Regions from separate parts of the Homo sapiens genome. Here regions 2, 3 and 4 are each linked to region 1. Evidence: promoter capture Hi-C in 16 types of primary human blood cells and fetal thymus (Javierre and others, 2016). All regions are on one chromosome and are shown on one strand. Each heading gives the region's core, a stretch centred on a gene start or on the middle of the fragment in contact. The rest is flanking DNA. Distances are from core to core; before and after follow the strand shown. Region 1 holds the start of SLC12A2 (solute carrier family 12 member 2). Region 2 has its middle 50 kb from the start of CTXN3. Region 3 overlaps CCDC192 (coiled-coil domain containing 192). Region 4 overlaps CCDC192 (coiled-coil domain containing 192).

Evidence for each region. Contacts are between HindIII fragments. The CHiCAGO score rates a contact against its expected background, and 5 or more counts as called.
Region 2: a fragment that was not itself captured here is called in contact with the fragment with the promoter of SLC12A2 in region 1 in 1 of 17 cell types (fetal thymus); the score reaches 5.9 in fetal thymus.
Region 3: a contact is called between a fragment that was not itself captured here and the fragment with the promoter of SLC12A2 in region 1, in 4 of 17 cell types (M2 macrophages, endothelial precursors, M0 macrophages and 1 more). The highest score is 7.8, in M2 macrophages.
Region 4: a fragment that was not itself captured here is called in contact with the fragment with the promoter of SLC12A2 in region 1 in 1 of 17 cell types (endothelial precursors); the score reaches 5.6 in endothelial precursors.

Annotation. Positions count from the first base shown.
Region 1 is chr5:128,080,397-128,087,918 of GRCh38, reverse strand. SLC12A2 (solute carrier family 12 member 2) reads right to left here and starts at 4,153. Exons shown (of 27, transcript NM_001046.3): 1 at 3,209-4,153. The coding sequence starts at 3,964. SLC12A2-DT (SLC12A2 divergent transcript) reads left to right here and starts at 4,744. Exons shown (of 4, transcript NR_152813.1): 1 at 4,744-4,949. RefSeq lists an enhancer at 3,000-3,169 and a silencer at 3,660-4,489. The HindIII fragment of the contact is 20,683 bases long and covers 1-7,522 here.
Region 2 is chr5:127,594,884-127,602,405 of GRCh38, reverse strand. No RefSeq gene overlaps it. Among named protein-coding and RNA genes, the nearest start is that of CTXN3, 50 kb to the left of the region's middle. The HindIII fragment of the contact is 1,148 bases long and covers 2,033-3,180 here.
Region 3 is chr5:127,757,098-127,764,619 of GRCh38, reverse strand. All of the region lies in intron 3 of CCDC192 (coiled-coil domain containing 192), which reads right to left. Among named protein-coding and RNA genes, the nearest start is that of CCDC192, 57 kb to the right of the region's middle. The HindIII fragment of the contact is 1,622 bases long and covers 2,834-4,455 here.
Region 4 is chr5:127,795,584-127,803,105 of GRCh38, reverse strand. It overlaps CCDC192 (coiled-coil domain containing 192), which reads right to left. Exons shown (of 7, transcript NM_001317938.2): 4 at 5,872-6,003; 5 at 4,944-5,000. Among named protein-coding and RNA genes, the nearest start is that of CCDC192, 96 kb to the right of the region's middle. The HindIII fragment of the contact is 1,425 bases long and covers 3,547-4,971 here.

The sequences.
Region 1 (7,522 bases), core at 2,904-5,403:
ACCAAATCTATTCCTCCTCCAGTATTTCTCATCTCAAGCAACAGTACCAACATCTATTAAGTTTCTCAAGTTCAAAATCTACAAGTCAGCTTCTTTCTCACTCCCACATCCAATCCTTTGTGCCACCAACCTTTACTATCTCTCAACCAGACCACAGTAATCACTTGAGTCTCTTTGCTTCCATTCTTGCCCCTGCCAATCCATTCTCCACCCAGAGCCTAAAGATGTTAAAACAAAATGGGTCATGTGGCTACCCCACACAAAATTCTTCAATAGCGTCCCACTACATTTATAATGAAAAATAGTTATCTCCTTTTAGTTATGTTAATATACCACTCTTTCTCACCCCATTACCTTCATGTGCGCTGTCCCTTTGGTCAGGACTGTCATTCCACCCAATCATCAACTTACCCTTCAGGTCTCAGCTTCAATGTCATACTTCTCAAAAAAACGCCTTCCCAAAACCCAATTAAAATTAGGTCCTATTCTATCTTTACAAGTATCCTTTTCTTTCGTAACACTTAAAAAACAGTTATTAACTATGTTATTTGTCCAACTACTTTGTTAATGTCTGTCTAGGCAGAAGCAGTAACTGGTTTGCTAATCACCACATAATCCCACAATGTCACAAGCATGTTGTCAACATCTAAGATACCCCCTTCCCCAATAACTCATAAATGGAGAACTCATGCCTACTGGTCCTAGAATGGCTATATAATATAGCAAGATGCACCAAGGATATTTATCTTTTCCCCTACAGTTGGACATCTAGACAAAATACTTTTAAAAAGTCAGTGATGGATAATGAAAGGAATTCAACTGGAGGGAAGACAATCCAGTCCTTTTCCCTAACAAGTTTCTGAAGTATTTTACTTCTTTTCTTCTTCTGTAGTTCCCAACACAGAGTTAGTCCCATGGTAGATAATTATGCACTTAGTAGACCAAAGTAGAGTATATGCCAATCAATCGACTGCTAGAATTAGGTGTTATAAAAATTCTAAATATTATAATTCACTGAAGGCTAGAAACATTACAGAAGGTGTTAGAGAGGTAGAAGTCAATTTAGACAGAGTAAGGGACAACTTCTGGGGATCCAGCCAACCTGTTATAACCCCTCCTGTCTGCCCCTCTTTCGACAGTGATGTATAGTCATATTTGTACTACTTAACACCCATTTCTTTAATCCATCTGCTAAAATTCTAAGCAAAATTATCTTCAACATGTAGTTATTAGTTAAGCCAATAAAACAGTGGCCATAAAGATTATGAGTGGCAGAAGGTAAACTACAAAGAATTAAAGTACCTGTTGCATAAATGAAACTGAACATAATATTTATATACTACATTCACCTAATAACGTAAGAATTAACAGAATCTAAAATTGAGATCCTAGAGTCTTCTGAAGGGCCAATATAAGAGGGAAATAACAACTAGGTATTATTTTCCAGGCACTGAACATGGTCATTTTTATTGCGCTTTTTTTCTAATCTTCATGATAACCCTGAAAAGCTGAAGCTAAGAGGTTGGGTGATTTCTTCAACTACCATACAACTAACAGTACAGGTGTTGTTTTTTAGATACTTTGAACCAAAAAGCCAAGCAAAAAACACAAACACACAAATCTAAAGTTTTGGAGAACTTGAAGTGCTTTGTTATTGAGATAATTTAATTTAAAGTAGCAAAAACTTCCCTAGGAAGCATATAAGCTCAACATATATACCTTTCAATTGGATGTCTTTCTAAAACTTATGGGTAAATACAGATCACTTTACTGCTCACATACTTGGCTTTGGTAAAATAAATCTAAAATATATCTGTATAATATTTTCATTAGTAAAACTGTCCTAAGATAATGAAAATTGCCAGCTCCATATCTACTTTTGTCTACAATGATTTTTGAGTTTTGAAAAGAAAAAAGAATAGACTTGATAGAAACTACAGGAGTATGAATAAAAAATGTTTTAGACATTGTTTTGCTTCTGATTATGACAAAATACCACAATGGAATAACAAGAATAGTATTATCTAAAGCTAAATGATCTCAGGCTTTTAAACAATCAATAAGCTGTAAGAGCTCTGTAATTACCTCTGTGTGAATGTTACATTATCAAACACTGGGACAAGTACAATCTTGTATGAAATCACTGTATGAGATCAAATAATCATATCCAAAAGAAATCACATACTGGATTTAAACTTGTCCAAACTGTGATCATTTCAACCTATGTGGTACCATCCTCTTGCGTTCACAAATTCCATCAATGTAGTCATTACACACTTGTAAAGGAAGACTTCAAGTAATCCCGGCTCATAAAAAAGTTAAACATTAACGAAATCTCAAAAGCATCAATGTTATCTCAAAACAGTGACATTGAACGCTGAAGAAATAAGTCTTATGTGACCATAAAAAATAGTTACAAAAATCAATGAGTTTATGGGGATGGTTTTCTGTTTACAAAGTGTAACTGCTTATGGCAAAGACCCCACAGGTCTTTCTGGTCATCCTCTACAGAAAAACCAATTCTCCTGTTTCCCTTTTTTCTTTAAAGACTCGCCTCTGTCCCTTTTTTTTTAAATATACACCTCTCCCAAAACGTTTTCATCGCAAAAAAAAAGAGTTATGCCATTATTAGGAACAGCGTGTCCCAAGACAAGATCTCTATGATCCTTTGTATATTCAAGATTGCAAGAATTGAGCTTTAATAACTCATAGACCATAAACACACCCTGTTAAGGTTTTCCTTCAAACAGCAACATTCCCACTCTTGCGATCCCTAATAGGCGTACATAAGCCACACAACACAATCTTTCAAAACGACACAGATGGTAGGTGCTCTCCAACCTCTCTCGAGAGATCCTCACTGCACATTCTCCTCTAAAGGGCCCACAAACACTACTGTCATTCAGAGGGATGGTGACTGTTGAGCGTGGGTGGGAAAGAAAGTGCACACGAGATACCTAACTGGATGGGGAAGGTTGTTAGAGGCAGCCCTCCGGTATCACGTAACTAGCCAAACCCGCTACAAACTTTTGAGAGATTAAGTTAACATTCCTCGGCAATTCCACCCTTGACAGCTGAATCCAGAGATGCCAGCAAGTCGTGCACGTCTACTACTCCCGCCACCTCAACTCGGGAAGAGTCTGCAGCCACATCCCGCGGTCGGCATGCACCAGGGGCTGGGGAAGAAGGGAGGGCTGGGCGAGCTCACCTTTTCCAGCTCGTCGTGGAGCTCCGCCAGGCTAGGCCGGAGCAGCTTCTCGCCCAGCTGCGCGGCTGTGTGCCGGTAGTGATCGATCCTGGGCACAGCGTCCATGGTGTTGTGGCCGAAGGTGCGCAGGTAGTAGGTGTTGGTGTGGGTATCATAATAGTAGTGCTGGTGGTGCCCACTGCCGCCGCCGCCGCCGGAGTGCAGGCTGCTGCCCTCGCTCAGCACCGTGTCCCCGCCGTTCTGGAAGCTCACGTTGGGCCCGTCGACTCCGACCCCGGCAGCATCTGACAGGCTGTCTTCAGCCGACGAGGAGGCAGCTGGGTCCACGAAGTTCACGCGGAAGCGGCCCTTGGCTTCCTCGCTGCCTTTAGCCGGCTCGCTCTCGCCGCTGGCTTCCCCGTCCGCGGGGGTCTGCTTGGCCCCCGCCCCAGCACCAGCCGCCGCCGCTGCCGCCGCCGCCGCCGCCGCCGCAGCAGCGGCCCGCCCGGCGTTCTCGGAAACCAGGTCCACCTGGAAACGGCTCTGGCTCGGGGTGGGCCCCAAGGGTCTGCCCAGCCCGTCCCCGGCCGCCGCGGGGCCCTCATCGCGGACCCCGCCGCCGTCCCGGCTCGCGGGCGCAGCATCCTCCGGCACCGAGGGCACAGCCGTGCCGGGCAGTTCCACCCTGGCTGCGGCCAGCGCAGCGGCTGACGGCGTCTCCCCGACCCCGGCCAGTCCCGGGGCGCCGGAGGAGGGCGCCGTGGGCCGCGGCTCCATAGCTGCCCGACCCCCGGCGGAACTGCAGAGCCCGGCGGACGTCTCCGGCAGCACGCCCTCCACACCCCTGGCCGGCGGTGGCCACAGCCGCAAGACCAGGTGAGAGAGTCTTTCTCCCCGCCGCCTGCGGGCCGCCGCTAGCCTGGACGGCCACAGAGGCCACCGGCAGCCGAGCGAGCGCGCGAGTGTGGCGGGCGCGGGGCGGGCCCCGCTGTTTAAAGCCTCGGCGGGGCTGCGGCGGCGGCGGCTCCGGCAGCAGCACGCGGGAGGCGGGGCCGGAGGCTCCTCCGCCCCTCAGCCCGCCCACCCGCGGTCCCGCAGCGGCGCGCGGCTGACGCTCCCTCAGCGATCCGGCCCTCCGCGGCTCCTGCGCGACCCCACGCAAAAGCGCCCCGTGCGAAGAGCGCGGCCAGCCAGTCCGCAAAGGGCCTCGGGCAGTGCGGGCAGCACGAACGGCGCGATCGGGGAGCAGGCGCGGCTACGCTCCGCCTCAGTGATGTCGCCGGGAGGATCTCCGCGCGGCTACCTCCTCTTCCGCCGCCTTCCTCCCACGCCTTCACCTCCCTCCCCCGCCGCGCTCTGCGGCGAAAAGGAGCGGGCTCCCAGGCCACCTCCCCTCTCTCCACCCAGGGGCCGCGCGTCAGTGGACCTGCAGCCCAGGCAACGGGGCTGCGGACGGCGCGCGTGCCCTGCCTCGCCTCACGCCGGTAGCTGATGCTCCCGCGGCAGCTGCCACCCCAGCGCCCCAGCCACGGCTTCAGAGGCTCTCGCACGCTGGCTTTTTTTTTTTCCCCCCGCTTTGGTGAACTCGCAGTACTTGGGCTGAGCCCGAAATCTCGCGAGATGCTGCAGGCGTCAGTGCGGCTTCCCACTAGGCGCGTGGTACCCGAGGCCGGGCCGGAGCCGCAGGCCAGCCGCGATTCCTTCGGGCGATGCTGGGGGCTTTCCGGTCGGGGCCGCAGCCGCTTCCGGAGCCGCGGGCGAGGTGCGTTCCCCAGCCTGGTTTGCTCTGGGCTCTGACCCGCCGCCGCGAATCTCCGCTCGTAACTCCGGGCCTGAACCTGGAGGAGGGAGGATTTCCTCTGTGCAGCTTTCGAGCGGTAGACTCACCCTGCCAGGCAGACCTAGATTGGCATAACCAGAGATCAGTTCCAGTTGTGATGCAGTGGGTGTCTACACACTTCTGATGACACCTTTATTTTAAAAGCTGATGTTCCAAGGTGAGAAGGGAGCTTCTTTGAGACGTCATGTTGTTTCAAGACGAGTTTTAATTTAAGGCATTTCCAAAAGTGATATGCAGCTCATCTCTCAGAATACAATGCCGGCAATAACTACCCGTGGAGTCCTTACCAGGAGGTTTCTGCGTGATTTGGGTTGTGCAGAATTCCTCTGCTTATATAGAAACAGAAAGGTACTCCTCTGCAGGTCTAGTTTCTCTTCGGTAAAATGTAAGGGAATATAACTGTGTTCCCACTTTCTTAGCAGCAGAAATTTTTAAACCTATAGATTATGCCCAAAGTCCTAAGTAAAATCAATGAATGGCGTCCTCCAATTACTTGGTTTTTATTTATGTACTTTTTTTTTTTTTTTTTGAGACGGAGTCTCGCTCTGTCGCCCAAGCTGTAGTGCAGGGGTGCGATCTTGGCTCACTGCAAACTCCGCCTCCTGGGTTCACGCCATTCTCCTCCTGCCTCAGCCTCCTGAGTAGTTGGGACTACAGGCGCCCGCCATCACGCCCTGCTAATTTTTTGTATTTTTAGTAGAGTCGGGGTTTCACCGTGTTAGCCAGGATGGTCTCGATCTCCTGACCTCGTGATCCGCCCACCTCCGCCTCTCCAAGTGCTGGGATTACAGGCATGAGCCACCGCGCCCGGCCCTTGTATTTTTAAACTTTGACTTTATGGAGACGAACACCATCGTTTGCTGAACACTTGAAACATGATGAAAGAGCCACAGAGTTGGCAGAACTGTTTGAAAATGCTGTAAGTAAAAGCTGCAACCAGGCAATTTTCAAAAAATTGTCATAAACATGATCTTACTTGAACTTGACAACTTTTCAGGCTATTTTATTATCTCTATTTTTAAAGACGGTGAGAGGGGAAAACAGCTGTTGCATCAGGATTTTTAAAGCTCCTTTTGAGCTTTAGTAATAACCAGAGGAGGCCAGAAAAATGAGGTGGTCCTTTAAGCAGTGCAGTTTTCTACTAGGGAATTGCTGCATTAGTAGTTGATCCGTGCAGTACCTTTCAGCTCCACAACGAATTCTGCCACTATTGGAATTCAACATTCATTTAGTTGAATAAATACTGAACAGGTACTATGAGCTACTCTGTATTTACGGGATATAGCAGTGAGCAAAACGGACAATCCCATCTCTCATGGAGTTCTTTCTAGTGAGAAAGAGAAACAATAGACAAGATAAATAGGTAAAATACATAGCATCCAAGCAGTGAGTACTAAGGAAAGGGAAATGGGATATTTGTGTGAAATGAGGATCATAAAATTTTCCATAGGATGGCCTCACTGAGAAGGTGATATTTGAGTAAGGAAGTGAGTGATATGAGTTCTTGGGAAAAAAAGTGTCTGAAGCAGAGGGAAACCAAAGACCCAAAGGCAGGAGCATGCTTAGCATGCTCACGGAATTGCATGTAAGCCAGTTTGGCTGGAACTTGCTTAAGAGATGTGAAGAATCAAAGGCAATTACATCAGAGAGCTTAGGATATGGGATGTAGTAGATCAGAATGTTTAGGACCTTTTTTGGCTGTTAGACATACTTGACTTTTTTAGTAGAATAGTGTGTTAGTCAGCTCAGGCTGCCATAACAAAATACATAGATTGGGTGGCTCAAACAGTAGAAATATATTTTCTCACAGTTCTGCCTGCTGGAAGTCTGAGATCAGAATGCCAGCATGATCATGTTCGGGTTTTCTTTTTGGCTTGCAGACAGTACCTTCTCAATGTCTCCTCAGATGATAAAGAGAGCGTTGTCTCTTTTCTTATAAGGGCACCAGTTCTGTGGAATCAGGGCTTTACCCTGATCACCTCATTTAACCTTAATTATCTCCTTAAAAGGACTGTCTCCAATACAGTCACATAGGAGTGAGGAGAGGATTCGGGCTTCAACATATTAATTTAGCAGGGTACACAACAGTCCTTGGCAGATGGCAGGTTATTGGAAGGTTTCAGTGGAGGAATGACATCTGCCATTTTTAAAGGATTCATCTAGCTGTCTTGTAGGTAGGCAAGGGATAAATGGTTGGGTCAAAGAAGCAAGGAGATGTGTTAAGAGGTATTACAGCAATCCAGGAAGTGATGATAGCGCTTTGACCACAGTGGGTATCAGTGGAAATGGGGAAAAGTAGTTGAATTCTGGGGAAACAATAGAATTTGCTGATGGATGTGAAGTGTGAGAGTCCAAGGGTTTTGACCTCAGCAACTGGAAGAATAGTATTGCTATTTTCTGAGATGGCAAAGGAGGTTAAAGGAACAGGTTTGGGTTGGATGAATATCAGGAGCTTAGTCTGAGATGTCTGTTGGAAGAAACACACAAATGTGTAT
Region 2 (7,522 bases), core at 1,357-3,856, 480 kb after region 1:
AGATAACATGTCAGGGACAAGATGAGGTGGGCAGCAGGGATAATTTATTGCTGGATGGGTTGAATTTGAGTTGCCTGTGTGGCATTCATTACTGGAGATGTCCAGCAAACTTTCAGCTACGGGGTTCTGAACTTCAGGGAAAAGGTTGGGTCTAGAGATTTAGGTATACAGGTTTAGAAGTTTTCCATAGATATCATGTGTTCTTATAAGACCCCCCAGAAGAGCCATGAGCCAAGCAACGGATGGAGGAAGAACAGCGCTTGGAGGGATTTACGCTTTGGTGATAACCAGGGATGCTGGGATCAGTTGGGTGTGAGTTTATAATGGAACTGGGTATCACTGGACATCACTGGTAGAGATCCCTTTCTCTCCTCTTTCTTTCTTTCTTACTCCTTCATTTTGTCCCTTTCCATTTTCCCTCCTAATCTTGGCTTTAAAGGTACTGGGGGAGTATCTAAAACGCATATTAGCACGGCTGATAATATTCAGTGATTTAAAAGGTTCCCAAGACTTACCCGTTATTGTGTTTTAAGCATTGTGAGAAACAATGCAACTCTAGTCAGAGAGCCCCAAACTTGTGGTCATATGGAGGCTGAACTGAGAATAGTTCTGAAGGTGCTCAAATAAATATGCAAACCTATCTTCCGACTAGTTCCTCTAGCCTCAATGAGATAAAGAGTTGAAAAGCTTCTCTTTAGAGATTAAAATATGCAATATTTGTTCAACAATGAAAATGCTTTTAATATCTCCAAACTTGGCACATAGTTTAAAATATACAGATATTCATCATTTACTTTAAGATAACTTTACATCTTTGAGGTTTTAATCACTTCTTTTAAAAGTTATTTTTAAAGATGTTCACTTTTGATGAAAGCACATTACAATGTCATTCTGTAACAGCAGGTTTCCATCAAATGCTTTTTTTTTTAAGTTGTGAAAACAACATTGATTATACTGCCAAACACTGCTAAAAAATGTTCTGCATCATAAAAGCATTTGGAGTCCCATTTATTATCATCTAAATTGTATATTGTACACTCCATAGCAACATATCGTAAACTAAACAGCCTTTCCTATTTAAACCAAGAGATATTGTAAAGCCTTTTTGGAAAGCATAATTTGATGGATTTCTAACCTAAAACTAATCTTCTTGTTTCCTCCAAACAAATGCTAATGGTGTGCTTGCCTTCATAGTTTCATCTACCAGTTTGGTAATGTTGGTCACTTAGCATGGCATTGAGAGAGATTAGGCTGAATGACAAGGATGCTAAAAGTGGAGCAAATCCATGAGGCATCATGGCTGGTTTTTGTTTCCCACATTTCGTTACACAGAGGTAGTTGTGTTTTCCTCCTGGGAGCCATCGAATAAACTTCAGAAAGACAAACCTATTAGCATTGACCAAATGAATCCAGAGCTAACAATTTTTTGCCAGTTTTGAAACTGAACTTGAGGTACAAAATTCCCAAGGTGGTGACCATATTTCTTCAGGTAAGTAAGAGTTGGGAAGCCAGTAGTATTTCTGTGGCCTAAAATTGAGGTTCAAAGCATCCTTTCCCAGTACTGCTGCAAAAAAGGGATTTACTATTGGGCACTGTGCATTATGATATGAAAAATATAGGCTGAGAATGAACCAACACTAGTGTGGAATTCATTCAACTGACTTTTGTAACAGGAATAACTTTTGTTTATCTAGTATCTCTTATACCCTCATATAGCATACTTATTAGAAGCTAGTAATGCTGGGTTTGGTATCTAGGTCTAGTTTCTTACAATTGATGAAATAGTCTGAGCTGAACTTAAGCATTGAGTGTGTGTGTTTGTGTGTGTGTGTATGCGTGTGTGTATTTGTATGTGTGTGTATATGGTACACTGTATATTATACATGGTATAATTATATATGGTACACATATATACATATATAGGGTACACATATATACAACGGTGTAACTAAAAAGAATCAAATGATTTTAGTTATACCATTGTTTTTTAGTTCTTTTTCATGGGATTTATTACTATCAGAAAATATAAGCTTTATAGCCTTTATATTGTCAAAAATGCCCATGTTCTTACAGATCTTGTCACTTCTCATCAAGAAGTGGAATCTGTCTCTTCCCCTTGAAACTGGGTGGTCCCTGACACAAATAGAACGTGGAAGATGTAATGCCACATGACTTCTGAAGCTAGATTAGAAAATGCCATGTAGTTTCTTCCAGTCTCTCTTGGGACCCTCACCAGTGGAGCCCTAAGCCTCCATGTAAGAAGTGCCAGGCTGCCATACTGTGAGAAAGACCAAACTAGGCCACACAAGGAGACCAAACGGAGAGGCCCCAAGACTGCATGAGCAGAGAGAGCTGCCTGGCCAGTCCCCAGATGCTTCAGCCACCAGCTGACTGCACTCACACAAGGCAGTACAAACAGAAGATTCTTGCCAAGCCATTTATGAATTTCTGACCCACAGAAACCAGTGGGTCAGTTAATTATTTTTGTTGTTTTAAGCCACTACGTTTTAAGGTGAGATGTTACACAATATTAGATGACAGTAACAAACTTTCGCCGTCTACCTTAATTAAGGGGCCTCTTTAATAAGGGGACTTGCTGTAGATCTTTAGTGTACTGCCTTAATGCCCCCTCCACTTCTCTCCATTCCAGTCAGAACCATGGAACTCATTTTGCCAGGTGAGAGGAATGTGGGCTGTTAAGGGCTCACAGCTGTGTCCCTTTCCAGGGATTGCCTTCAGCCAAAGGAGCTGCCTTGCCAAGGTACAACCCTCCCTTAGGAGAGACCTCTTCCAATGACTGATTAATAGAGGAGGCAAAGACCCATCCTGCTTGCCTTACTCCAGGCAAAACAGAAAGGTCATCACAGCTCCTGACCTCCTTGTGGGATAAGCTCAAACCTCAACTGCAACCATGTCACACACGACTTCTTCGTCTACTCAGTCTTGCTTCACTTGCTCCCTTACTGGTGTTATTCTTGAGGGTGGGCCTCAATAACCTCCCACACACAAATCTCCATTTCAAAGGCAGTTTCCAGATAACTGGAACTAAGACAGCCACGATCCAAAGTTAACTGCCAATAGAAAAAAATCATAAAGTCAGGCTAAGAGATTCTGTAAGTCTCTGGCTTTCCAGTAAGCAGCAATAATATTGAAAGATACATTGATGCTATGAACAAAGCTTCCAACCAACTGATTAGCATCTGTAGACTAAGATGGTTTCCTTAACAGTCTTTACAGCATTTTTTTTTTTTTTTGCTTATTCTTACTGCTGGACATGATCTAATTTGCCTGACCAAAACCTATTTTGGCCTTGGGAAGGCCTGACTATTTGATGTTTCAAAAGAGAATATGTTAAAAATAAAGCCATTTTTTAAATGGATCTGCATCAGCAATCAAACACTTAAAGCAAGACTGCAACCTATTTCTAAATCTTGGTCTTGGATATGTGGCAGAATTTAAGAAGATATCTGTTGTAATTATTTAAGAAGAAAACTTTTAGAACAAAGCTCATGAGAGTTGACAGTGCCTAGTTCCATTTTTCCTGGAAGTGAATGTTTTATTTCTTATTTTATCCACCAGTCATCTTCCAGAAGGATTCATTATTTCACAAGGACTGAAAAGAAAGACAGGGTTCAGAGATCATTGCTAGAGGCTGATGGTGTATGGAGACAGCTCAGTGATTTAAACCACAGGACATTCTTATTTTTCAAACCAAGTCCTATCTTCTACTTCAGGCACTTTATAATTAATTCATGAAGACAAGCTTCAAACTTTTTTTCTCTCACTTGTTTATCCTGTGTTTGCAAGCTCTTCCATATCTTCACATGACCACAGCTACCAGCAGGAACTACTGATTTCTCAAAATTTTCAAAGTCCTATCGAGACACTAAAGACAGCACTAAAGATAATTGGAAAGTGAATAGGAACATACATTTACTGGCGTCTCAGTAATCTGCACAGTGTAATATGGAATTGTTCTGTCCTTCTTTACCAACTTGGGAAGCAAAATAAGGTACCATTTTTTAAAATATTCAAATTAAATGAAGGTATCAGTACACCCATGGAGGAAAGTGTTTCTTCCATTCCTGGGGCCTTCCTTCCCAAAAGAAGTTCTAAGACCCAGAGGTATTTACTTAGTCAAAGGGGTCATTTTGATAGGCAGCCCTTTCAGGAGAGAAAGTGAGACATCTTCCATGATCAGTCAAGTAGTTTATGCTCGTCAGTGGTAGTGGCTGTTATCGCTGCTGTGTTAAGGTAGCCCTCCCTGCTGAGCAGACCACAGCAGTCCACCAGTGCTAACCTGACAGGAGTTGCTCCCCGCTCAGGGGAGAGAAGCATTGGTATTTTGTTCATCTAAGATTGCTCTCAGCCATACAGCTCTCTAGAGACATAGCTCCCCACCCTACACACAAACTCAATCACTATCCCAGACTACTCGGGATGCTAAAGTGGCTAGGTCAGAGGTGTCCAAGCCTCCAACACATGTTTTGCCCAGAATGTCATCCCTCTGCCAAAACACCACTTACCGTCATGGCTAAATTAGGGCACTCTCCTTGGAAAATGAGTCCCCAGACTACTCCACTAGTGTCAAAGGGGTAGGCCAGATCTAGAGAATCAGTGGTGCTGCTGACAGCCTGGCCTGGCTATCAGTAAGAAGAGATCCAAAGTGGCTATTGACCTTTCCTCTTTCTGTTGACTGAATCTCTCCAACTTCCTTTCCCAGCAGGAAGTTGAAGAGATATAGTGTGGCTATTGACTTTCACTTGGCTTTGAGGGAAAGTCAGTAACCACACTGGATCTCTTCAACTTTCAGCCTCAGGGCCCCTTGATTTCCTGACCCAGCATGGTTCTCAGTGAGCACTCTGCCTGTCTCATCTCATAGCTTGCCATCAACAATCAAAGCAGAGACCCACCTCCAAACACACATATGCTTGATTCCCTATAGCGTGTAGGGGTAGCACCCAGGGGTAGCAGAAGTTTTAACATAACATCATTACACAGAATTTCTCTGATTCAGCCTCCACTGAGTCAGGAGGAACTCTAGCACACCTCTCCCTTGGGAATACAGCTTGTTAATAATGGGAATTCTCAAAGAGGTCCTGCCCATGTTTTGTGAAGCCCTTCTCTCTGTTTACAGCTATTAGTGCTGCTCACTGTACAGTTGTCTCTTGTCACAGTGATCTTCAAAGGCAATTGTAACCCATCGTCAGCCATCACTGACAATGTTCACTAGAGGCACAGCACTGTGGGCACACACCAGAATGCTGCCCCTGCAGCTCCTACCTGGCCAGGGCACTAACATATGACAAGGCCACCGGCAGTTCCCAGCAAAGTCACATCAACGCAGGTACTGTCCACACTGAAGGAGTGGCCGTCCATCAAAACCAACTCCAGAAGCCTGGATCGCTGGCACTTCATCATCAGGAGCTCTTAAGCTTCATCCACCATCTCACTTCAGCCCCCTCCCTTGGACACAACCCAACACCCCTGGGGGCAATTATGGATCCACACAGTGCTTCCTCAGAACTCACTTTGTGCAATCTATGCAGCATAACTGACTCTGCTTTTAGAGCATCTTCTTGCCTAGCAGATGCCCTGGTCATCATGGAAACTGCACCTGGCAGGCTCACCTACTTGTCCCACAGGCATGCTCATACAAGCCTGTATCTTGGGCAAGTGCAGCCCGGTCTCCTGCTGCGACCTCTGCCGCCAGCATTAAGCCCCATTTACTTTATGGATTAAGAGATGGCTGATGGCTGTGGGCTCAGACCTCTGGAGAGAGGTTGAGATCAGGGGGGTGCTGTTCAAGTGGGTGCTGAGATTTCTTCAGCAGGACTAAATCATGCATTAAATTTCAGTGGGGTGAGATGGGAAGCCACCAGGAAGTTTTTTGAGGAAGAGCAGGAAGAGTGTTTAGGGATCACAGCTCAATTATAACATTTCTATTTTTCTCCAGTTTTATCACCAAATACCCCTTTGCTTATCTCTTAGGACCTACATTTTCCTGCAAGGATGAATAACATCGTGTTTGTTGTCTGACGAGAAAGACTCTCTAAGAAATCAAGTCATCTGTTTTATGATAGCCTCCTCCACAGGCAGGGGGATTTAGAGAACAATCAAGTTCTTGGAGGAAAATATTTCAACTTTCTAAAATCCGTGAAAGGGAAACTGTCAGCTCTATTCCTAAGGACTCAATTAATTAAAGTTAAGTCTCCACAAACTCTGCCAAATGCCAGCTCCAGATTAAAGGGCGTGAATGCGCATTTCTGTTTGACCTCATGTTACCAGTTGAGTACCTGGCAGATTTGTGAAAAGTAGCTTTGTGTGCTGATCTAACAGAAATGAGTACTAACTAGCAAGGAAGGAAGATAGAGTTCAAGGAAAACCTCAAGCGTTTAAAGTTGGTGACTTTTCCTTTCATCTTTTACCCCTCACTGCTCCTCTTTTCAAAGTGTTCATCTTTTACTTTTTCATCTTTTACTTTTCTCCCACATATGTGTTACTTGAACATCTTCAATGCTCTCTTCTCATAGGGGTGCGTCTGGGATGATCAACTGCTTTGAAGTTTGCCTGGTTTGGGTCTCTCAGCTAACAATACCTTTCCTTTCAAGATGTTACAAAGACACAATGCGATTCTGTTGTAAAGCTCCCAGTTTAGAGCTGGGCACAGAGGAGCTCAGAGCAGGTGGCCAGTCAAGGTGGCAGATGTCAGCTCACTGTCTGCTCATCGGCTGTCATAGTTGGATGCCCACATTGGAGAAAAGGTAGTTTTGTCTTCTGTGAAGACCCAGCCTAGTGCAGGTGCTTAACGTGGCTCTGCAGCCCTGGACCTTTCCCAGGTCAACACAGTGGGGATGTTCAGGGTCTGAGATTTCTCCTCTGCTTTCCAGCTTCCAAATTCCTCTGTTAAAAGGGAATCTTCAGTCTAAGCAATTATCATTTATTTATATCTTATTAGAAATTGGTTTAATAGGTTACTTTCTCAAGTAAGTAAAGCAAACAGGGCACAGAACAGGGAAGTTTAAGAATGCTAGCCTCCCACAGAGGGGTTTTAAGAATTAAAAGAAAAGAAACACTGCCAGGTAAGATGGGAAGAAGGAAGTAAATGAACTGGATTTCCATTATGTAGCACAAGAAGCCAATTAAGTAGGTATTAAACCTCCACAATAGGTATATATTATTTTTGGATTTTTAAATTGGATTTCTAAATCTCCATTGATTGTGGAGACAACATTCAAAGTCAGGATGGCCTGACCTGTCTGCCATGGTACCTCCCTGGAGTCCCACCTGTCACCTACATCAAGTTTTCCCAAGGAAGCCACAGCTCGTAGAGAGGCCCACCACCTCTTAGCCTGGGGAGGGATGGTCTCAGGGCTCACTCTACAGAGGCCTGGAACTGGATGAGAACTGCTGAGGGTCTAACTGCATATGTTTTAAATCAGATGGCTTGCAATAATAATTAAAGATAATGAGCATAATAACATTATTATTTATCGAGGGCTTCTGCTATACCAGACTCTGT
Region 3 (7,522 bases), core at 2,395-4,894, 320 kb after region 1:
CATAATATCCAAGGATTGCAAGATTCAGAAGATCTAAAAAAGGAGATTAAAATCATCCAAAACTTGGATGAAGAATCTATAGCGTAAGTGGTAAATTGAGCCTGCATGGAGTTGTCCATAAGAAATGAATCATTTTTAACATCTAATGATTCTAACATAAGATAGTTGGGTAACCACAGGTTACGTAGTCACCTGAAACTTGGGATCTGTCTTGAATCCTACTTTCCCTTCAACTTCTACATTTAATTAATCACCAAATCCAACTCATAAATATATCTTGTCTCTGTCTTCTCTCCACCAATAATTTAGGCCTTTATCATTTCCAAACTGGATTTTTATAAGAGCCTACACATTGATATGCCTGGCTTTGGTCTCTCAAATCTGTCCTTCTCAGTCCCTCACTGTTTTCTCTCTTGAGCACAGATCAGAATGTGCCTCCTTCAATGGCCCTCCTTGTGTAGGGGTCAACTCCAAATGTATAATGGAAAAAACATGGGCTTTGACAGAAAAGGGACAAGTAATGAATTCTAATTTGGCTTAGGACCTCAGAGGAGTTACTGTCTGAGCTTCTTCCATGTGTTATATGGTATAGTGGGAGACACAGACAAGCAATTATTATCGGCGGGAGGTGGGAGAGAGATTATGAAAGCACCTAAGGACATCTAACCCAAACTTGAAGGAAGAAGAAGTGCATTTTGGAGGGAATGGCATCTAACTGAGGATCTGAAAAGAAGTCTCTTGGGGTTCTTTGGATAATGAGTAAGGCGATAAGAGGAAGTAGAGAAAGTTAGCAGAGAAATTCTAGGCAGAAGCAGAGGGAAAGGGGTGTATTAATGATAATTTGACTCTAAGAAATGAGGCCTTTGTTTTTTCTAGATTAGAAAGGTGAGAGAGGATATGATACCTTTAAAGAACTGAAAGTGGTGTAATAGTGGTATACAGGGAGTGGTGTAAGGTAAAGCTGGAGAAACAAGCAGGTGGTCGGATCATAAATGGCATTGTAAGATCTGTTAGAGGACAGATTTGACCCTGACAGTGAAATCAGGCTAATTTAAGATTTAAAGTTGAGAAATATGAGATCTTTGTTATAGAACCTTCATTCTGGTGTAGTGTTGAGGAGTCATTAAACAAGGGCCATAATGAAGGTAAAGTCAGGAGAGGCACTGCAGAAGGTAGCCTGGACAAAAATGGTGATAGTGGAGATAGAGAAAAAAAGATGGATTCAAGAGTGATTTGGGAGTCATCACCTGTAGTACTCAGCAATTGATTGCATATGAGGCATGAGGAAAAGGAAAGAATCAAAGCAGCACAGTGTGGCTGGTGGCACTGATCACTGGCCTAGGGAATGTGGGAGAAGGAACAGGTTTGGGGCAAGAAGCAGGTAAGTTGAATTTTGGAGATGGAGATGGAGAGCTTGAGTTGTCTGTGAGAACCTTGGTGGAGCTGTTCAGTATACATAATTAGGTCTGAAGTCAGGGAAGACCTGGACTAGTAGTGAGGACTTAAGGCTTTTCAGCAGATTGTGTATGCTAAAGTCAGATCACCAAGGAGAGTCTATAGAAGGAGCAGACAAGAGGGCTGCAAACCCACAAAAGAGCTTTCATCATTTGCAAAATGGCATATACAATTTTCCAGGACTGTTTGGAGAAATACATAGCTAAAATTCACAGAAGTACCAAACAGAATGCCTAGCTCATAGTATAAACTCGATTAATATTTATTGAATGAATAATTGAACAAAAGCATATACCTAACTTACTAATTTATTTGTAGACAATAAGCAAAGGGAAAGTTCATTTACCATCTCAAAGAAAATCTCATGAACAAAATACAGGTTAAGCCCATACACAAAGACACCTCCTCCTAACAGCAGAGCCATGACTCTTAAGGCATGAGGCTTTTTGCTTTTTCCAAGACAAGAAAGTCACATTTATTAGCACCGGTCAGCTATTTAAAACTGACCTCTGTTTGATCTTGACATTTACAAGCAAAAGGAAGTTTTTAGTTATGTAACAGGCCAACAATCCACACATCCCGCCTGCAACAACAATATACTACAGAAGCCGATTTGTCATTGTGTTTGACTCTATTCAAAACAACACCATCTCTTCACCAGCTTCTATTTTTTTCCTTGCATTCTCTGAGGCTACCAATTTATGCCAACAACCCAGTAACAAGATGAAGATGAACATCTGCTTAAATGAGAAGTTGTTGGATTTTGTTTTGTTTTTTAATAAGGAGGGAACTTGTCTGCTGTAAAATCAATCAGAACTCTGGCTAGCCAAATTGTTTAATGAAGTTCCTGATAACTGGGCTTCATGTTGATAAGGAACTCATTTTGGGTCAAACAGACTGCTTGTGATTTTATGGCATTAAAGTACACTTCAAAATAGTTCTGAAAACAAAAACTCATTCACAAAACTCATGATTTCAGATTGGCATGTCAAGCATAATTTCTGAGCATTTGCAGAAATGAATACTCCTACCAAGGGCACATTGTTTATTTCAAATAAACTTGACATCAAAAGATCCACTGTTGCATATAAACAATGAAAAAAAAACAGAGCATTTTTTGGATAATCTCAGTATGCATCAGATTACTTTTAGCCACTCAATACACAAATTCAGTATCAAAAATTTGCTGGTATCTTTGTTCCTTCTATTCCTAAACATAAAGAAAAGATAGACTGGACACTAAGATGTACTAAGAGAGAAATAATGGGAGTTTTGTTAGGGCCTTAGGCATAAAATGATTCATAATTTCTTGCTGATTAGAGTCAAACATAACTTATTAGTTTTTTTGGTGGGGCGTTGTTTGTTTCTAGTCCAAGCTTTATAACAATACACATAAATATACCTGAAGAATTTAGGGTAAATATTAGCAAAATAGTTAAAACTCTCAAGAGAAAGTAAACTATTAAAATCCTCCCGTTTCTTTGAAAATGCCATCTTGAAGAGAAAACCTGAGCCCCAAGAACCTTGATCTAACCTAGAGCAATAATTTGGCCTTAGGTTTTATTGTTTCATATCAAAAACAACAGGAATAACACACACACTCCAACATACACACACTCCAACATACACATGCACATAGAGCTACAGTCACCAGCTTCTCAAGGACAAGGGCCCACAAGGTTATTCTCAGGAACCAGACTTCCCAGTGGGATTTAAGTTTAAGCGTAGTCCCACAGATACCCTTTAGTGTGGCCCAGCAAAGTATTTAACACCATCTGAAGCTCCATGTATTTTCAATGTTTATTTGTTTGCTATCTGTGTCCTCCAGTAGAATGTCAGCTCCATGAGTCAGGGGTCTTATCAATCTTGTTTACTGCTGTGTTCCCACTTCTAGATATAGTACCTGGCATATAGTGAATCCTCAATAAACAATTGTTAAATGAACAAATGAGTGCTGACCAACAAAAACAAACAAACAGAAAAAACAGCAAAGAAACTAAACCTGGCTTGATCTTGACTTTGAACAGCGTGCAAAGCCACAAATGCCCCAAATTAGGTTCTTGCAATAAGCCAGAATGGGCTTGAAGGGGAGCAGGATGTTGGGGAGCCAGTCAGAATAGATACAAGTCTTTTTCAGAACGGAGTGTTTCTTTTGCGTTTTTGCCTCCTCTTGAATTTCCTTTAACTTTCTTGTTCATTCTGACAACATACACATAATATTTTCTTTCTTCAAATACAAATTACGGGTAATTTATCCCCACCTCTTACATTCCAGGAGTCTCATCATACGACTCCAACAAGGAGGGGTATCTTAGAGTTCAGCTCTTGCCATCTTCTGCTAACTTAAGACTTGGTTTTCTGTCTTGCTGAGATTATCTCTGCAAACTATAACACGGGGCTCTTGGAGCATTATTATTTTTCAATCTTCCTAAAACTTTCCTTTTTTTTTTTTTTTTTTTTTTTGAGACAGAATCTCGCTCTGTCACCCAGGCTGGAGTGCAGTGGCGCGATCTCAGCCTGCCACCATGCCCGGCGAATTTTTTGTATTTTTTAGTAGAGATGGGGTTGCACCGTGTTAGCCATGCAGTTGGAGAACACAGGACAAGGGTGAAAAAGAACCTCAGCCTGAAGATCTGGGTTAGCATCTGGTACTAAAGCGAGATGGGAACTTGTTATAAATGTAAAGTTTTGAAACTTACCTCATCTCGCTTCAGTACCAGATGCTAACCCAGACCTCTCATCAAAAAGGGCAACTTTGCAAGAGTTTCCATGGGAAATCATTAGGCATCTTCCTTACAGTACTGATTTGGCTGCTTCTGCCTTATTTTTGTTTCCCAGTCTTAAAAAACCTTTAAAGAGCACTCAGTTTTCTTTAGTTAATGATGTAAAAAAAAAAAACCACTGTATTAAAATGGTTAAATCCCCAGGACCCTCAGTTCTTTAAGGTGGACTAAAGGGCTGGTATCATCACTTCAAAAGTGTCTTGAAATTGATGAAGCTTATGTTGAAAAATAAAATTTATAATTTTTATTTTTATTGTTTAATTCCATTTTTCCATGAACTTTAAAAAGTTTTCTCATATGTAACTATATTTTGCTAGGTATGGTACCCAGAAGATATATGAAATGAATTCTTACTACATAGTCCTTACTGGATTCACCTCCTGACACCCTCCCTGCCCCAGCTTGCCAAGGAAAACAGCTCCCAGTCTGTACAAAATCAGATAATGGACAGAAACAGACAGAAGCTCCAAGAGATGAAGCAGAAAGGAAAGACAAGGTTAAAGAACTAAAATCCCTTTACCAGATGAAGAGATGAGAAAGAGTAGAAGAGAAAACTGGATAGTAGAAAAGCCAGCCAAGTTATGACAAGGGAGCTTGGGTAGCGAGCGGGGCAGTGTGTGTGTGTGAGAAAGAAAGACTTTTGTGGTAGGTTGGAACTCGTTAATTTATGTGGCTGAAGGCATAAAGAGAACTACACAGTTCTGCTATGACCACTGGTAGGAGTGAAAATAAACAGATGTTTTTGAGAACCTACTGTCTTAGTTCATTTGGGCTGCTATAACAAAATACCATAAACTGGCTAGCATATAAACAATGGGAATTTCTTTCTTTCTTCAAATTCTAGAGGCTGAGCAGTCCAAGATCAAGGCACCAACAGATCTGGTGTCTTATGAGGGTCTGCTTCCTGGTTCACAGATGGCAGCTTCTTGCTCTGTCCTCACATGGTGGAAGGGGTGAGGGAGATCCCTTGAGTCTCTTTTATAAGGACACTAGTCCCATTCCTGAGGCAGTGCCCTCAAGAACTTATCATCCACCAAAGATCCCACCACCACATACTATCATATTGTGGATTAGGTTTCAATATATGGTTTTTTTCTTTTTGGCAGGGGGACAGAAACATTCAGCCATAATAACCACAAAGGGACAGAGGGACAGATACCTATCCCATTTAATAACAGCCTCACAACAGCCCTATGTAACTAGCATGTTTACACCCTCCTAGATAAGACAACTGTAGCTGGGGAGACAAAGTGAATTGCCCAAGGCCATAAAGCTAGCAGATAGTGGAGCAGGAACAAAGCCTGGGCTCTCCCTGATCTGATACCTGGAGCTGGGAACCAGAAGCCATTGATAAATGGGAGAGACTCTGGGCTAACACTGCTGCCAAAAGGAATGTTACCTCATAAGCTCTATGTTGGCATGCATCTGGATCCAGACTTCATTGCAAAAGTATGGGTTTTCTTGACACTATCTTTTGTCTCAGCACAAAAGCTGTATGGTCTATTTGCTTGTGTATGGTCATAAACAGCAGTCCACCAGAGTCCCTTTCCTTGTCCTCTTATATTCACTGGTGATAGAAGCCAGCACACATGAAAAAACTATTTTTTATGGGCTTCTCTAGAAATGCTTTTACTTTTCATCTTTCTTTCACATTCCTAACAGCTTTTCTCCCTTTTATTCACCCTTTTTTTTATCTATTACCCAACATCCAGGCATTTAGTTTTCCTCCCACCTGATCTTAACCTATGGGAAATACAATAAAGTATTTTCTTAAGCAAAACTTGGTAATATGTTGAGTGGTTTATCATTATAACCTAGGTTAGAAGTTGGAGCCAAATGACACTTTCTCACTCTACTTTGGCTGAATTGGTGCAGTTATTTCTCAAAGCCTTGACTAACCCAGATTATAAGTCTTAATTGCAAGTTATCCTGATCCCATTATTTCTTTTATTTTGACATTAGTGACTTGGCTGCAGAGAAATAAAGAATAATTGTAAGCTAAAGTGAAGCCCAACAAAGAATTCTGTTGACTGTGTGACCTCATCGGAGGAAGTGGCCACAACCTTCTTATTTGTTGGCTATTTCTAATTTTTTTCTTTGTAACAGTGGACCTTGCTGAAGGAGACCTTAGAAATGCCCAGTTTGCACAAATTTAGGCCCAGGACCAACAGATGATTAATGCAGGTAACAACACTAGGCACCTATACTTTCCATTCTGAGTTAAATCTGTGTTCTCAGAGGCAAAGCTAACAGATAAGGTCTTGAATAACAGTGAGATTAACCCTTTTCTCAAAGGCAGGATCCATTGTTTGATAATATTGCAAGCTTCCACTGCTTCATTCCAGCACAAATCTTGGTTCTTGTCGTGTCTTCCACACTCCCCACCTCATTCTACTTCACCCGGCTAGCCCATAATTTGGGTTACCAGTAAAGGCAAGCTAGCATTCCCAACATCCTTGTGACAAATCCTAAATTAATGACATTTAGAAAAAGCCTTAACGTGTACAGCAGGCAAAAATATTCCTTCAAACACACACACACACACACACATACACACAGATTGAGAGAGAGAGAGAGAGAGAGTGTGTGTGTGTGTGTGTGTGTGTGTGTGTGTAATCCTTGTCTTTAACACTAAAGACAGTCTTACTGCAATCCCTTAGTGGCATGGCCTGGTAAGGAAGACAGTGGCACCCAGTGGACAAATGTTTGATTGTTTGTGACAGGTGTTCTATTCTGAAATATTCTCAAGAACATTCTTAGGAAATATCAGTTTCTCCCCTTTCCCTATCCTCTCATCCATATGTTTTTAATGTTGACTTAAATTTTAAAATAGGGGACAGAGGACTGTTCTTAAAGTTTTTATGTTTTCAAGGAAGAGACTAAACATTGGAGAAAGCAAAAATCTCAGGATTAAATCCTCTGACAACAGTGTTGATTGACCCCTCTCAACAGTAACAATGAAGACAGCCAGATCTCATAAAATGCTCAAGTTAATTAAAAATATAATATTGAAAATGGCTGCAATGTGCTTTTACACATCATACTCTCCCTTTCCTCAAACTATGGCCAACTTCCAATTAAACTCACTTGGTTATGCAAATTTGGCAACTTCAAGAACTATCCTTTAGTACAATTAACATGTACAGATCCTGCAACTTAATGCTATTGTGCAGTTTATCTTGGAGTCATATAAACACCTATTTTCATTCTCCATGTCTTCCAATTTTTCTATTCTCTGTGAGCTACTTGGGTAGAGAAGCTCTGGCTTACATGTCTTTCCCACA
Region 4 (7,522 bases), core at 3,010-5,509, 280 kb after region 1:
TGTTAATTTTCATGTTAAGACCATGTTTCCTTTAGAAACTCTTTTTATTTCACGTGAAATAGGAATTTCCAGCAACTGTGTTTTCTTTCTCTGCTATTTTTTTCCTTCTGTTTCCACTCTAAGAGATCCTTACCTTTTGTCACTTGCATGTTATATTTGAAAGAGTCAGCCTCATTAAATTAATGCCTGATGTAATATTGACATCTTCACAGAATACAATTCTTTGTCATAAAGTGATTTTCCCTGATATATAAAGGGTGCTCCTACAAATGCCAAAATAATTTTATTTTTAATTTAGCCACTTTAACAATTCATTTCAATAAAATCTGTACAAGACATCGAGCCAGACACTGTGGGAGGAATAAAGATAAACAGACATACTTCCTCCAGGAACTTGCAGTCTTGAGAAAGAGGCTGCATCAGATCATTCTCTTGTGGGGCATAGTGTGACAAATGACTGAAAAGAGGCACAGAGAAGTGCTGTGAACGCACCAAAGAAGGAGAGATTACTTCTGGACTGATAGGGAGAACTTCGTGGAAAAAACAATCTTGATAAAGAATGGGGAAAGTCTGGCAAACTCAATGGCAGGGACAGGCATTCAGGGTAGCAAGGAGCTACAAGCAAAGCTGCTAGGGCAGAGATGCAGGGTGCACTTGGGGGTCGCAGATGGAGATGGAGATGAGGCAGGAAAGGGGGTCAGGTCCCCATTGTCAACATGATAAATGCCATGGTCAGGAGGTTAGACTTTATTCTGGGATAATGGACAAGCAATGTCTCACTCAAGGCTTTGGAACTAAGGAAATGACATGATCAGAATAAAATTCAATGCAATTCAGCAAAATGTATTGAGTAGCTACAATGCACCCAGCCCTGTACTGGGTGTAGTGCATTCAGAGACACATTCTTAGTGCTGCCTTCAATGTCCCTAGAGTCTAGTGGGTAACGGATATATAAACAGATAATGTCAACAAAGTGTAGTGTATTGAGCTCTGTTAAATAAGCAGGAGGCCATTGGCCTGAGGTTCTCTCCCTATTTTGAGTTCCTACTTAACAAACTGAAACCTAACTTAGGAGTATATTTTTTGTAACAAATAGTTGGGTTTCAGCCAGTCACAAACAGCTGAGCTTCAGCCAATCACAGGCACCCAACTGATCCAACCACACCCAAATAAGGCAAACACCTAACTTAGGTAGCCAACAGATAATGTCTTTACTTTGCTTCTGTGTTTTGCCTATAAAAGCTTGCTACTCATGCTGCTGGATGGAGCTTTCTCAACCTCTTCTGGTTCTGATTTCTACCCAATTCAGGAATCATTCTTTGCTCACATGAACTCTGTTAAATTTAATTTGTCTACAATGTTTACTTTAACAGCTCAAATAGATGTATCTAAAGGAGGCTGTGGGGACCCACAGAAAATAATCTGGGGACTAAGGGAGAAGTTGGTACATAACTTGAGTCTTGCAAGGACAGAAAAGAGTTATTTGAATGAAGAGAAGAGAGAAGGATATTCCAGTTTAAGAGAATACTGTGAGCAAAATCACAGAACATCAAATAATACTGGATATGTAAAGAAAGATAGCAGCTCCATTCTAGTAGTAGGCTCAGTGTAAGGCAGAGAGAGGGGAGTGAGGGAGAAGAGAAGATGAGGGGCAGGGACTATGCTTTGGAAACTTCACTCAGGATGGAGGCACGGAAACCAGGAGACTCTTATAGAGGTCAGGTCCCACAGGTGTTACATTAAGGAGGCACACTCCAAACAGAAATTCCAAACTTTCCATGGGACTCTCACTTAAAGGGGTTCAAGTACATATTTTGCCAGGCAACTCTTATTAATACTTCAAGTTATTTCCTAATCTTCAGCATCCTCAGAACTCTCATCTCTTATTCCAGAAGAACCCTCACCCCATCTTCAGTGTTCCATTCCTACCACCCTGGTTTTTAAATCCCCTTTCTCTTCTCTGCCACGCCAGCAGATCACACTCACCCTGTGAGTGTTACACTTTTGCTCTGTTTGGTTTTCTGCACCCATTCCAAATCTTTACACACAGATTTTTATCCTCTCTCTTCTCTCAATAGGGCTTGATGGTGCCAGAGCAAGTGGGCTACCTTGTAACGGGGAGTGGGGTTGTGGGGGGCTCTGAATTCACTCACATATGTTAACAATTTGGGGCCAGTTACAATAATTAAAATATAAGACGATTAAAAAGAGCTAGAGAAGTGGCAGTATAATGGAATAGAAGACATGGAAGTGAGATAACTTGTAGAAACATATTCAGGGCCTGACAACTAACCAAAGTAGGACAGAGGCAGAGAGAGGTAGGATTTTAAAACTGCTTTGTAGTTTGAATCTAGAAAAAATAACAGTAGTGTGATATTATCCACCATGGCTGGGGGATACGAATAGAGAAACATATTTAAGAGATAATAACAGAAGATGATAAATTTGGCTTTGTATATTCTTAGCCTGAGGTGTCAGCAAGATATTCAGGTCATATTTAAGAACCAGAGTACTTCAGTTTGATGCCGTGTACCAGCCATCTCTAAACCTGTGTGTTACAAATCACCATTCATAATCAAACTCTTTTGGAAAAATGACCAACAACAGCCTGTTCTTGGAGATTGTTTGTACATGGATAACTCTTGCAGGAAATAAACCCATTTAACTTTGTTTCCAACAGTCTTCCTACTTTTTGTTGTTGTTGTTTTTTTTTTTTTTTTTTTTTTTTTCAGAATACCTCTTAGCATCCTATGGAATGTTTTTTTCAGGGACAATGTTCTAAGAAGTGCTCATTAAAACACTACAGATCTCTAATCAGGGGAGGCTTAAGATAGAAGGAACTTGCTGTGGGAGAAGGCAGTTTGTCTGCATGGGAGTGAGAGTTGAAGCATTATGAACTGCTGAATCACCAAAAGTGAACAGAAAGAGAAAAGGAGGTTGGAGATAGAACCTTTATAAACACCATTTGATACCTCAAATGGCACATAGAGAATATAATTTGGAGAGACAGCAAGTTGTAATAGCAAAATCATGGGTTTCAGAGTGTGACGAGTGATCTAATCTTTTTAAGATTCCATTTTCTTTCTGAAAATTAATGACTACCTTGCTGGGTTGTGTTGAGATTTAAAATAGATATGTGAAATATCTTCCACATAGAAAATACATAATCCACTTTCAATAAATACTATCGTTAATACTGTTTTCATTTAAGTTTTTCTTGACACATTGAAGCAAAACTTTCATGAATACACTGTTGTATTGAAACCTGAATGTTGGACAATTACATATGAGAAATCTCAGTCACTGGTATCAATACCCTAATACAGGGAAGCAATTCTAGTTCAGACAAGTCTCAAGCAGTAACAGCATGGTACAGGAATAGCATCCATAGTAACTAGGCAGTGAAAGAAGACACTATAGGAATTTCCCTAAGGCACCAGGAACTATGGCTTTTTTCATCTGTTTTTCACAAAGAGATGCTGGAAGCTAATATCTGAGCTTTAGTGAATACATTTGCCCTCCATATAAAATTCTGAGCTAAAAGCTTCTTCCATGTGAATGACTGTGGGTATCAAATGTCGTGACGGGACATCCTCTGACAATAGTCATTATCTGGCACCCTCAGGGGGAGACCAGGGGAAAGGCATCTGCAACAAAATACTGGCTAATGAGACATATTTCTGTCTAAATATGTCACAATGCTACAAATGCAAGCCTTAGTCATTTTCAATATTGGACAATTGAACATACAAGCCCAAAAAAGATTCTGAATTTAGAGTTAAAAGCTCTGCTAACTGCCACAGCAGATTAGCTTTTCTCTTCTCTAGCACAAAAATGGGGACAATTACCAATATTTTACCCAAGTCAGTTCATTCCAAACCCCAAAGGAATGGTCACCAGAATGTATTATCTTGCAGTCTTTTGGAGGGCAACCTCATAGGTCTCAGGTCTGTCTGAGGGGCCTGGTGTAGTTAAGATTGGCCATTAACATGACTGGTCAGTATCTTTAATCAAGAAGTCATTCCATAGCAGCCAAGATGTGGATGAAAAAGATGACCAAAAGGATGGCAATCAAGTCTTTGAGGAGATGTCTAAGGCATTTGGGTTGTTCAGATCCTTGGGAAGGAATAGTGGCAGGGTGACAGATTTATGGTCATGGACACACAGGGTATTGTGGCAGGAGATGCTTATGTGTTGTTCTCAGAGTAAACATAGGCTAGTGTGCAAATGAAATTTGCCATAGAAATTCATGGGGTCTCTCTCAGGCGAGTACTTGCAGGAGAAAATGGGCAACTATGTAGTCTGATTGGTTTATATGGTCACTTGCCTAAAATCAATATTAATGTTAATAATATATATTAAATATATGTAATATATATATGTATGTATAAAAAATGTATAAAAAATAATGTCACTTAACGTGTGTCCTGAAGACTGGCAGCATCAGCATTGTCTGAGTCTAGAATCACCAAAAAGTGCAAATTCCCAGGCCCCAACCTAGGCATGCAGGAAACAGAATCTGAGTAATTTGTTTTAAGAAGCTATCAGGTGATTCTTACATACAGTAAAGTTTAAGAAGAACTGCTCTAGACCTTTATCTGATGGGTCAATAATTACCACATCTCTCCACTTCCACCTACTCACCCAACTAGACTGGCTTCTTCATCTTTCTGTCCTAAGTTTCCAGTTCTCTTCTTCTGATAGCACCTGATTAGACCATCTGATTATATATAAGAGCTCAGTTTGGAATTTTGGTCATCCACAAAAATCAGAATTTTATGTATGAAAAGAAACTGTGTAGACGCAGTAAAAATACTCATTTTTAGCCTTGTGATTTGGTTTGCTCCAGACGAAACTCATTTATAACTTCTTTCCATGTTCTGTTCATTTCCAAGCTAACAATGACATAAATAAAGGGATGAAAAAAGGAGGAAAACACTTACCTGGGCTATAAGTTGCTCCTGGGAAGCTTTTACTTCAGCTTGCAATTTCTGGATGCACTGAAAAGGAGAAAAGTTTAGAAACTAAGTATGTAACTCTTTCTTTTACATACTCAACGTATTACAGACATAAATGTGTATCAGTTTTCAAATCTCGTGAATGGCAGCATTATTTCAGCTACGTTTTGAAAACCATCATTGGAGAAATCATCCCCCCATTCCTATTTCTCTTCCATTCTATGAAAGAACCCAAAGAAAAAACACACAAATATATTAAGAACTAGGATATGCCTGAGTAAGATAATGTTAGCTTGATGTGCTACGGTTAATGCAAATGCCCCTATATCATATAAATATATATATATTTACAAATAAATAAATAAATAAATATATATATATATATATATATATATATATATATATATATATATATACCTTCACATGAAATCATATCCATATATTCCAAAAGCAAACCCTTTGGATTGAACAAGAGGTAAATTTACATAATGATATATATTTTAATGCTCAGATATTCAGAGATTAATCATTTCTTATAAAGTAATTGATTAAAAAACATATGCCAAATGTTATGAGCCTCTCGTTTTACTCCACAGAAAGAAACACTCCAACATTAACAACTAAGAGACATTTGTACAGTCAATACCATTTATAAAATAAATAGAATATTCAGCTAATGTTATTCAAAGGGTTACATATCAAACAAACTTTAAAACTACTACTAGCAAAATAAATTTTATCTCAATATTTGCCAGGGAATAAAATTACTTTTAGCAAATACAAATATTGTTATTTACCATTATGAACTTAAAAATACGACTTTTAATCCAGACTGAAATGGCTTTCCAGGATTGTCAATTCATATAAAATTAGGTAACTTTTAAAATAAAGATGACTTTGTTCTACAACATACCTGGTCTTTCACAAGAACCATTTTTTCATATGGTCCCCCACTGGCTTCCTTGTGGTCCACAGCCTCCAGTTTTTCCTCCAGCCGGGATACTTGTTCAAGCAGTTTTGATTTTGTTCCTTCAGAGACTGAAAGCTAAAGATATTTTCTTTATAAGAGTATGTAAGTACAGTGATATTTTAAAAGCTCCTTTTAAAAATTCAACTTACAAATAATTTATCTTCCACCAGTATCTACTAAATATGAAAATAGCTTCTGGAGCATTCCTCATAGATGATAAATTAGCATAGAGAAAGAAGGAAAAATTGATTTTATTTATTGTTTATAACTAAGATCTTTCTAAGCAAGAGATGAAATCGCATAGTTACAACGGAGAATATAGAAATACTAGAAATAGAGAAATTTTGAATGCAAAGACCTCAACACTCATCTTCACTGTGTTTCAAGATTGCACTTTATTTGTACAGCTGAATCTGAAACTTGTATTCTGGCTTATATATGGTCTTTGAAACTTAACTCTTGGTGGGCTACAGCAATCTAGAAAGAGTGGGAGTTCTGACTCCTTTGAATGTTCGCCATAGAAGCATCAGGGTGCATGGAACTGGGGTATATTCAGGAATTTCAAGTTAAAGTCTGATCAAAGGCAGATCTATGCTAAGCCACAACCAAAAAAATTCCTAGCAATGACTTTGTTTTTGTTTGACTGTTTGTTGATTCCTTTTGAGGAAAGTGGTAGTTTGATAGTCCTTAGTCTCTAATTCCCTTAGAGAGTGCCTGTACTAGCTTCTCCTTTCATTCTGACAGCTATTGTGCTTTTTCTCTATAGGTCAGCAACAGTCCTGAAAGACTCCCTGGAAAGGGACACACAATTCTGTATTCACTGCAACTCCCAGGGCATTCTCTGAAGCATGGATTATCTCTACATTTCTTTTTCATTACTCTGAATGTTATTGCAAGGCAAGTTGTCTCATTTTGAGAAAACTTAATTGTCCTTAAATTTTTAAAGACAATCTACCAAATATGGAAGCATGAAGAGGTCAGTCTGCCAAGGAAATAAGCACATTATCTATACTGGCCCATCAGATATACTGGCATATCATATATACTGTGAGCACAACATACATACTGGCACCGAACCATCCAGCCACACGCTCATTCACTGGACAAATGTTTGTTCAGTTGCCTCCTCCACAGCCATTGTGTTATATGCCGCAGATTAACAAAGTGCAAAATAAGGGTTAGAGGGAACACACATGTTACGAACTGCTGGCCATGCCTTTTGGCTCTTGGTGGCCTTGGAGACCTGCGGTGCTCCTCATGATCACCAACATGTGTTTAACTCCTGAGTGCATGGTGGTTTGGGATTGCAGTCTGGCTTCTCTGCCTACCCTTCTATTTTATTAGAGACACAGTATAGTGTAATGGTTAAAGCCAAGGAGTCTAGTGTCTTTATCCTTTGGGTTAAAAAAAATCTCAATTTTGTACAAAAATTAGCCAGGCTTGGTGGCAGGTGCCTGTAGTCCCAGCTACTAGGGAGGCTGAGGCAGGAGAATCACTTGAACCCAGGAGGCGGAGGTTGCAGTGAGCCAAAATCGCGCCATTGCACTCCAGCCTGGGGAACAGAGTGAGACTCTGTCTTAAAAAAAAAAATCTC